3 separate regions of the Homo sapiens genome follow, and all the other regions are linked to region 3. Evidence: promoter capture Hi-C in human tissues and cell types (Jung and others, 2019). All regions are on one chromosome and are shown on one strand. The core of a region is centred on a gene start or on the middle of the fragment in contact, and the rest is flanking DNA. Distances in the headings are between cores, read along the strand shown. Region 1 overlaps SERGEF (secretion regulating guanine nucleotide exchange factor). Region 2 has its middle 42 kb from the start of LINC02729. Region 3 holds the start of KCNC1 (potassium voltage-gated channel subfamily C member 1).

Region 1 (3,117 bases), core at 457-2,956, 74 kb after region 3:
GCATCTCTCCCCCAACAGAAAAGCTTTAACAACCACTCAAATACTATTTCATCAAGAAGCCCCCAACTCGATGGAATAGCATTTTCTTTAAGACCCTGGTCCTTGGTGAATGGCTCCCCTGTCTCCACAACTTGCTCTGTTTATAATGGAGAAGAGCAGTGTTCCTTCTCCATCTGAATCTGTCACAGTAGCAGATGCCAGTAAGGGTTGCCTGGAATGTCCGGACATGTGATGCTGCCATGGTAACAGCAGACCAAGGTTCGGAATGCTTTATCCCTGATGAGCTGCCCCGGCAGTGCCATGCCAGGCTGCTTGTGGAATCTTCCTCAAAGAACTCCCCCCCCACAAAAAAAATTCACCAAAACCCATGCAACAACAACACAACCCATTAATGGACAAGCAACTGCTGAGCACTGGTGCCAAGGTTCAGCTCCTATAAACATACTTTGGGCCACTCACCTGGTCCCTTTACTGATAAGGAAGCCAGGCCCTGGCTGTCTGCACTGTGGCTCACCCAGGGGGTAATGCGGTTTTTAGCTGGCTCAGCCAACGAAGCAGGCTGTCCCCAACTCCAGCCCCCAAATTACCACTTCTCTTGTTTGATGCCGCCAACCAGGGATCTGCCGGCGTGGACCCTGGCAATTAGCACAGCACTTGCATTTGTTGGGGAATTAGGAGCCACTGATTACCCTAATTCCACGTCATTTACAGGCAATGAGTGTCAGCCTGGGATTGGCCTTTCCAAATGGTGGCCTACAGGGTGGCATGATCATGACTTGACTTTGAAATGGAAGCAAGGGCCTGGTAAGCCAGGCTGTGAACCAGGAGGGGAGGCAGGACTCATATCTGAGCCTAGCTATATGGCAGCCATTGCCTCCCCCAGTCCTGCCCACTTAAGGGAAATGAAGACCAGAACAAGGTGTTTCCAAATTGAGAACATGCCAATTTCTAAGTCAGTCCTGACCCAGGAAGAGAGCCCATTTCCCTTTGATAGCCCTGCTGACCCCCTAGAATGTGCAGCCACAAGATTAGTGTCCCCTAATCTGAGAGTTTCTTGGGGCTAAAGGCCTGAGTCAAACTCTTACTGGCTGAGCAGGACCCTCACACTCTGCCTAGGCTCTCCTGACATCCCACTACCAAGGGCCTGAACTTCTTATCTGTCCTCCAAGTTGCTGCCTGGCTTGGGCCCCTTGGAATGTGAATGTGCAATGTATTAGTCCGTGCTTGTGTCGCTACAAAGAAATGCCTGAGGCTGGATAATTTATAAAGAAAAGAGGTTTAATTGGCTCACAGTTCTGCAGGCTCTACAGGAAGCGTGGTGCCAGCATCTGTTTCTGGTGAGGGCCTCAGGAAGCTTCCAATCATGGTGGAAGGCAAAGGGGGAGCAGGCACATTGCATGGTGAAAGCAGGAGCAAAAGAGCGAGCAGGGGGAAGTGCCATGCGCTTTTAAACAACCAAATCACACATGAACTCAGAAAGAGAACTCACTTATAACCAAGGAGATGATACAAAACCACTCAAGAGGGATCTGCCCTCATGATCCAATCACTTGCCAACAGGCCCCACCTCCAACATTGGAAATCACATTTCAACACGAGATTTGGAGGGGACAAACATCCAAGCCATGTCACCCAATGATAATTACCTTAAGACGCTTGCTGTCAGACCCCTGGTCACAAATGGGCCCTCCAGGATAGTGACATTTCCAGGATAATATAGGCCCCTACACCTTGTATGACTGATCCCTATCTCAACCCAGCAGGGGCCAACTTCGTAGCTAGTATTCCCCATATTTCTACCCTTTCCTGCCAGTTTGCTGTAAGAGGAGCCAATTGGCTTGTATACACTTTATAGGGTCATGACCATGTGGAGCCAGCTAACTGAATACTTGTCCATTAGAGAACTTCTGGATCTCTCCAAAGGAATATATAGGTATTGGGGTTTGGCTGGACAAGTCCTGACAACTCCCTAATTCAAACTCTAGGTTCCTTGAAAATAGGGGGCTAAACCCGGTCTTTCCAGTCATTCATAAAATGTCTATTTTGTCTTACTTGGTAGATATCATAAGGGATATAAAATGAACCATTCATGGCACCTGCTAGCAAGGAATAAATAATCTGAGGGATCAGAAGAGACTTCCTGGAGGAAGAAGAAAAGTTAGGGGAGAGGGAAGAAAGAGCATTCTAAGTAGATAGAACAGTGGGAACAAAGACCTAGCTGGGGGAAGGAGGGGATTGCAAAGATAATGGTGGTAGTTCCACTTGGTGGAAGAAGACGTGGTGCAAAACATAGCAGAAGGAAAGAAATTTGGGATGATAAGTACGGGGCATATGGCAGATGGCTCAAGAAATATAATCCTCAAAAAGCCTGACTAAAGATTTTGGACTTTATTTCATAGCCAATTGGAAGCCACTAAGGCTTTTGGACAACAGAGTAGCAGAATCAGATCTGTGCCTCAGAGGCAAAATCTGGCATAATAACAATCATCAATATTGTTCTTGCCATCATGACAGATCACATTTAGGATGCACTCACACGATGCCAGGCACTTTTCTAAACACTTAGACTGAGTGGGAAGGAGGGTCTAAGGGAGATCATTTGGAGGTGGAGGCAAAGTCTAAGAGGAGGAGGACAAACAAAGCCTGAGCTGTCTCAGTGGCAGTGGGACGCAGAAGAGGGCAGGACGGAGAGAAAGCAAAGAGGTGGGACCAAGAGGACTTGGCATCTGTGAAGCTGTGGGTACAGAGGGGTGAGAGGAGTCAGATAGCCTTAGCCAGGAGACTAGGAGGATGGAAGTCGCAACCAGGTCTAGGATATGTGATTCCTTGATTCACAGTCCTGGTAGATGAATCTAGAATCCAACCCCAAGGATATGGCCAAAATATCCCTTGTCACCCTGAGTTCAGGAAAACATTTGGGGAGGAACAGACCATGAAACAAGGGCAGCTGTCCCAGGAAGATTTATTCTCCCACACTGTGCCCTGCTCCTACCAACCTAGTACCTGCTGGTTGGAGTGAGAAGGAAAGGACCTGGAGAGAAGTGGCCTCTCTTTCTTTGACCCTAGTGTATTCTTGGTGGAGGTCTTCTGTCATGATATGCATCAGACTAGGGTCCC
Region 2 (3,215 bases), core at 363-2,862, 80 kb before region 3:
TAGGCATTTAATAAATGGAGCTATTGTTTCCACTATGAACCTTCTTTCCTAAACCTTTAGGAATATCTTTAAACTCCTCCTTTTCAGGATTAGGAAACTGATCCCAGGGAATGACAGTGACTCACCCAGAGTCTCACTGCAAAGTGAGCAATGGTGGAGGCAGCGCCAGACTCCAAACCGAGTGCCCATTCCATTGCCTCTGCCAGAGAATCTTCCCTGAGCTCCAACCTAGGGTGGGCCTCCCTGTGCTGACCTTACAGCCTCTACTATCTGAGTCGCCCACTAGGCCTTCCAAAAGCCCTGTCTCTATCTGAGACAGGAAGTTCCCAGGTAGGACCCAAGCCCCCCAGCAGAAACTATCACCTAGCTGGATCCTTTTCAAGGTGTAGATACCCAGCTAGGGAAGCTTATTTCTCAAGGGGTTTCCCGGGACTTGGCTAAGCTGGGTGACATCAACTTCCCAATGGAGGGGAGAAAGAAATAAGAGAGGGAAGGGTTAAGGCTCAGCAGCTGGGACAGGCAGCCTGCAGACGGCCCAGCCCAGTGCTGGGGGGCCTGCACCATTCCATTCCTTTGCAGATCAGTTACACCCAGCTGTCTCCCTCCCCACTGCCAGCACCCCTCGGATTAGGCGGGAAAGGCTCCCCGGCCTGCGGCCTGCACACGGCCCATGGGGAACAGCGCCTGCAGCCCACGCCTCCACGACAGCTGCTGAGTGTCAGGCAAGAACATAGATCAGTGGGATCCTGGCAGAGGTGCCCTAAGCCCAAGCCCTGCCCCCAGCATGTGCAGGAGGGGCTGCCCGAGAAGAAAGGGGGTCTGTGAGGGATTTGGGAGGTACAGGGCAGAAATTGCTCCCAAAAATATCTCCTCTGCCCATGTGTCACTGTGCCTCAAATTCCACCATTAAACATCTTAAAAGTTTGGGGCTTCCAGAGACACCAATTAAAAACTACACCCCATGGAGTAGCTGGCATTTTGATGCACTGTTGATAGGAATGTATTTGTAAAATTTATGAACATTTAATTTTATTTTACAAAGTATATATGAAGTCCCTCAAAAATATCTTTTCCTTTTTCTCAGTTGTCCCACTGAGGGCTTTAACTTAAAGAGGAACTTAACTTAAGGACATAGTTTATAATATGGAAAGAATGTGGGCTGGAGTCTTAAGATTAAGAGAAAACACAAACTAAGGTCATGAATACTCTCAAAATACTCACAAAAGCCAGATGAAAAAAACAAAAGAAATTTTAACACTAGAAAATATCTGTGCCTGTACCGGAAAACATGAAACAGTTCCACCAATAGGTCAGAAATAGGAAATTTCTTGAAGTTATAAAGCAAATGGGAGGCAGCATAGTGTATAGGTAGAAAGATGGTCCAGACTCTAATCCTGGTTGCTTTACTCACGAGTTCTGTGATGTTAGCAAATTACTGAACCTCCCTGAATTTCAGTTTCCTCAACTGTAAAGTTGGAACAGTAATTACAATAACTGTGAGAAATACATGAAGATTAGAGGAGATCATTTTTGGTAAATATCCCTGTGATTCCACCATCAGAGGACCGTGACCATAGAAATCACCATCAACTATGAGTGAATGGTTATGGTATGTCTCCTCCAGCCACTTGCCTACATAGCTGCTAAGAAAACCCTCACAGTACCAATTCTAATTAATCCAGAATTTTATTATACATATTACCAGCCAGTTAAAACTCATTATTTGAAAAGAATGGACAATGGCAAAATGGTGCCCAAGTTGAAATGGCAGGGTAACTTACCCTCAATGAAAAGTCAATCAATTCAAGGAAGAGGAAAAGCATGAACAGTATTCTAATTAATATTCCCAGGATGATCCATGAGGATATTGTATCTAAAAAATAGGAGGCTAATAAAGTACAATCAGAAAAAAAAGTTTCTAGAAATTAAAACCATATATAACTTCTACTTCCATCACACAGAGTACCTGGTATTCAACCTACCCTGCAATTATAAACAACTAGAAAATTGGTGAAAATACATGACATACATGTTTCCAGACGTGGGCAACAGGCAGTGCAAGGCTAGGATCCCGCAGAGAAGGGAAATAGGTGAAGAATTAATAAATCTTACTAGAAAGTTCCAAATTCTGCCTGGATAATTTTCTGGAACAAGAGACAGGGAAGGGCATGTCCCAGCAGAGCAGGGTGGTCTCGCTGAGTTGAAGACAGATCAAATTCAGGCAGTCTGAGGCAACTGAAATATGTGGGGCAGAATACCAGAGATGAGGGAGCCATGTAGAAAAAGAACTCCAGAAAGTTGCATATATTAAGGCTGTGGTTGAACATTAAGGTGCACATGTGTAGGCTGAATATCCATAAAGACAGGTGAAGAACCAGTGGGTAATTGTAAACTGAGAAATTCTTGGAGCTTTTGCAGAGCTGAGAGACATTACATTTCTTACCAGCCAAAGTGAAAAGACCTCACTGAACATCCCGGGACTTAATTGAGCTTCCAGAAATGGTCATACTTTAGAAGAAGGATTAAACTACACCTAGAGTAAAGGCTACCCTAAAGAAGCCCTAATTAAGCTTTGAAAAAAGCCTCAAATTGACCATGCTGACACACAGTAGCTATAAGACATAAGAAAGTCTAAATATTCTTTAAGGGAAAAAATACAGACATTCAGCAACATACTATTAATAATGCCTAGAATCCAATTAAAATTACTAGACATGCAAAGCATCTGGAAAACGTGACCCATAACAAGGAGAAAAAAACAGTCAATAGAAACAGACCTAGAAATGACAAAGATGATGATATTAGCAAACAAGGGCTTTTAAGTAGCTATTATACATATGCTTAAGAATGTAAAGAAAAACATAAGCATAATGAAGACAGAAACGGGAGATATTTAAAAAAATAAAATAGTCTAGAGATGAAAATATAAAGTTTTAAGTGAAATGAGATTAACAACAGATTAAAGAGTGCCAAATAAAAGATCAGTGAACTTGAAGATGTAACAAGAGGAACTTTCCAAAATGAATTACAGGGGCCAGGCGTGGTGGCTCATGCCTGTAATCCCAGCACTTTGGGAGGCCAAGGTGGGTGGATCACTTGAGGTCAGGAGTTCGAGACCAGCCTGGCCAACATGAGGAAACCCTGTCTCTACTGAAAATACAAAAATTAGCCAGGCGTTGTGGCACTCACCTGTAATCCCAGCTACTCAGGAGGCT
Region 3 (3,308 bases), core at 809-3,308:
GTGTGGTTCTGCAGGTGAAGAGAGAGGTGAAGTCCTGGAACCCTATGGCTAGTAGAATCCCAGAAGATTCTTGGGTGAGAAGAGGGGCTGGACATCTGGGTAGAAAGAAAGGAAGGTTTGGAGAGGCTGCTTTCTTGTCTCTCCCCATCTTGATTTCTCCCAGCTGTGTGTGTGTGTGTGTGTGTGTGTGTGTGTGTGTGTGTGTGTGTGTGTATGTGTCTGCCTCTGTGTCCACCTTTTTCTCTTCCTTCTGGATTCTCCATTTCTATTTCATCTTCTACCAATGTTGGGACAGAATTTCCTGAGAACCCATGTCCCGGGGATCTGAATATGGGCCAGGATGGGCCACACCAGGCCGGGCCACACCAGGCCAGGCTTCCTTGTGGTTAGGAGATGGGGACTCACACTGGTCAGGGTGAAAGGGACACTCAAAATCACTCTCATCCCTGCATTACTCTGAGATTGAAGGGGAAACAGCTCCTATTTAGAGGAATCACACAGATCAATATCTGGAGGGAGGAGGTGCCATGCAGGCCCCAAAATCCAACCCTCTCTTTGTCTCTGCCCAACTCTGCCCATTTCTGACTTAATTTAGCCTCTCTGTCTCTCCCCTTGTCCTATTCCCATCTGTCAATCCTTGCCCTGCCCCTCTCCACCCCTTCAAGCCTTTTACCCACCACACACAGATTTTCCTGTGGCTAGATTGGGATTCCCCTGGCCAAGTAAGGAGAGCGATGTCTGTGGCACAGCTTTGTCCCCAGGCTCACAACGGCATCTGTGGGTCAGGGTAGAGGGACAGCTGTCTGCACAGTTAGAAAGTGCCAGCAGTAATAAAAGCCTCATATCTTCTTAATTAAATCGCCCTTTGCCCAGGCATCCTGTGTTCGATTGGGTTGAGCTGGGATCAATAAGCCTCTTTCCCACCCCAGCCACCCCTGGAGACGGGCCTGACCTCCCCAGTCCTGCCTAGGCCCACCTGGCCACCTCCCCAGAAGGCTGGGAGCTTCTCAAGGCCAGAGGCTGGGTCAGATTCATCTCTTGTGTCCTTGTGCCTGGGACGGATCCTGAAACAAGTAAGGAGTAAAGGAGTGATTGCTTTACTGAGTAAACCAAGGCACTAGCAGCAGGCATGGGCCAGGAAGGCTTTGAGGTTCAAACTGGAACTCCCACCCCCAGGACCAACTGTGAAGATGGAGGAATCACAGCAAGCAGCAGCTCCCACCCAGCTCCCAGACATAACACCAGCTTATCACCCAGGGCAGTTGAAGCCCTAGGAAGTGCGGGGTGGGGGTGTCAGTGCTCAGGGAAACTACGAGCAGTTGCTGCTTCTGACCTCTGAGGGCAGAAGGTCCTTTTCATAAGGGGTCTCCACCTAGGGATCCAGGGTTAGTGTGGGAGAGTCCGTGAGCTTGGATGGATGTGGCACTCATGGGAGACTCCCTCTGTCTGAAGCTATAAAGGGCCCAGGGTCAGTAAGGAGTCCAAAGGGGTTAATAGGGGTCCAGGATTGATTGTTAGTGGAGGGCGTAGAGGATAACGTGGTGTGTGTGTGTGTGTGTGTGTGTTGGGGTTCATGCAAGACATTACCCATGGAAGGAACATGGGGCCTCCAGGTTCCGCGAGAAGGGTCGGTATTAAAGGATTCCTTGGAGCGGTCAGCACTGGTCCGGGCCAGGGTGTCTCTGATGACAAAACTCCGGGAGAGCTTTGTCTCACCAGGGATCAGATGGTCCCTGGTTTGGAAGGCAAGGGGAGGGTGCCAACGCCCTTCTCACCTCAGTCTGACCCGGGGGCGCGGGCCCAGACGTCTCTCGGAGCCCCCGCCCCTGGAGTGGCGTTCCCCGAGGGCGGACCGTGGGCGGGTCCCCCGGGAGCAGCAGGAGCCGCGCGGGGCGGGCGCCCCCAGCGCCGAGGTTGAGGGAGGCCGGGCTCGGTGCGGGGCTGGGAGGGGGGCGCGGAATCAGGGCTTTTTAGGACCCAGCGCGGCGCCTTCCTCCGGGGGCGAGTGCGGCTGCGCGCGCCGTGTGCCCGTGTCCGGAGAGCGGCGGGCTGGACGCGGACCGCGCGAACGAGCAGGCGACGGGCGAGCAGCAAGCGGAGCAGCAGCCCGGGCGGCAGCAGCGTCGCGGCGGCGGCGGCAGCGGCCGCTCCGCGCCTCGCCTCACCGGCCTCGCTGGCCTCACCTCGCCGCGCCCGGACCCGCCACCCCCGCCTCCCCGCCCGACCTCCGCAGCCCCCGTCTCGGCCGGCAGCGCCCACCGCCTGCCCGAAGCGAGGAGCGGAGTGCGGGGCGCAGAGGCACCGGAGCCAGTGCCCGCCGGCCCCGCAAATCAAACCCAGCCAGGAGAACCCCCGCCTGGCCCCGTGCAGCTCCGCGACCGCCGGGAGCTGTCCCTTCAGCACCGCCGCGGGAGCCCAAGTCCGAGCGCAGCCCAGCGGAACCCCAGCTCGAGCCCGGGCTCACGGAGAGCAGCGCTCGGCGTTAGCCGCACGAGCAACACCCCGGGTGCCCCTGCCCAGGGGGCCCGCCATCTCCTCCAGGAGGCGGGGAGAAGGAACGAGGAGGGCGGGCGGGCAGGCGGGCCCGCCGCCGGGGGGAGCAGGCAGCCAAGCAAGGAGAGAGGGAGGGGGCCGGAGCCCGCCCTGCGTCCCGAGCTGCAGCCCGGCCACGCAGGGAGGAAGGCAGGCGGCATCCATCTCCCCCGCGCCGAGAGCGCGCCGCGGCGACCACCTCACAGAGGAGCGCGAATTTCCCGGCCCTGTCTCCTCCCCTCCCCCTCCTGGGGGCTGGCCTCTAGTCCGGCCCCGGGAGCGGCTGACCTTTCCCCCAAAAGCTTTGTGCCGATTTCTCCATTTTCCCGCGGAGATGGGGACGGGAGCCCGGCCCCCCAACCCATTTTCCCCACCTCCCGGGGCTCGCTGCTGAGCCCGCCCCCCTCCCTCTTTCCCCCTCACTCCCTCCCTCCCTCCCTTTCTCCCTCCCTTTCTCCCTCCCTTCTTTCCTCCTCTGCCTCCTCCGCTGCCGGACCAGCTCCCTCCCACATCTGGCTCCTAGAGACCCCTGGGATCCCGCGCACATTCCCCTGGACCGGCACCCGACAAAGCGCCCGGAGAGGCTTGGCTCGCTCGTTGGGGTGGCCAGAGCCGCAGGCCTCTGTTCCCCCCGACGGCTGGGGGGAGGGGGGAAGAGGGCGCGCGCCCCCCTCCCCGGCGCCAACTCCCCCTGGCGGCCGCTCCCATGGGTGTCGCTGGGCCGCGCCATGCCTAAGGGGGCGCCGCGATGGGCCAAGGGGACGAGAGCGAGCGCA

What was found. Contacts are between HindIII fragments. The study calls those that stand out against the background at their distance.
Region 1: a fragment that was not itself captured here is called in contact with the fragment with the promoter of KCNC1 in region 3 in 3 of the 25 tissues and cell types used here (aorta, dorsolateral prefrontal cortex and pancreas).
Region 2: a fragment that was not itself captured here is called in contact with the fragment with the promoter of KCNC1 in region 3 in 2 of the 25 tissues and cell types used here (lymphoblastoid cells and pancreas).

Annotation. Positions count from the first base shown.
Region 1 is chr11:17,806,993-17,810,109 of GRCh38, forward strand. The region is part of intron 10 of SERGEF (secretion regulating guanine nucleotide exchange factor); the gene reads right to left. Among named protein-coding and RNA genes, the nearest start is that of KCNC1, 74 kb to the left of the region's middle. The HindIII fragment of the contact is 5,619 bases long and covers 1-3,117 here.
Region 2 is chr11:17,653,143-17,656,357 of GRCh38, forward strand. No RefSeq gene overlaps it. Among named protein-coding and RNA genes, the nearest start is that of LINC02729, 42 kb to the right of the region's middle. The HindIII fragment of the contact is 4,261 bases long and covers 1-3,215 here.
Region 3 is chr11:17,732,723-17,736,030 of GRCh38, forward strand. KCNC1 (potassium voltage-gated channel subfamily C member 1) reads left to right here and starts at 2,059. Exons shown (of 4, transcript NM_001112741.2): 1 at 2,059-3,308. The coding sequence starts at 3,281. RefSeq lists a silencer at 1,899-1,998. The HindIII fragment of the contact is 8,281 bases long and covers 1-3,308 here.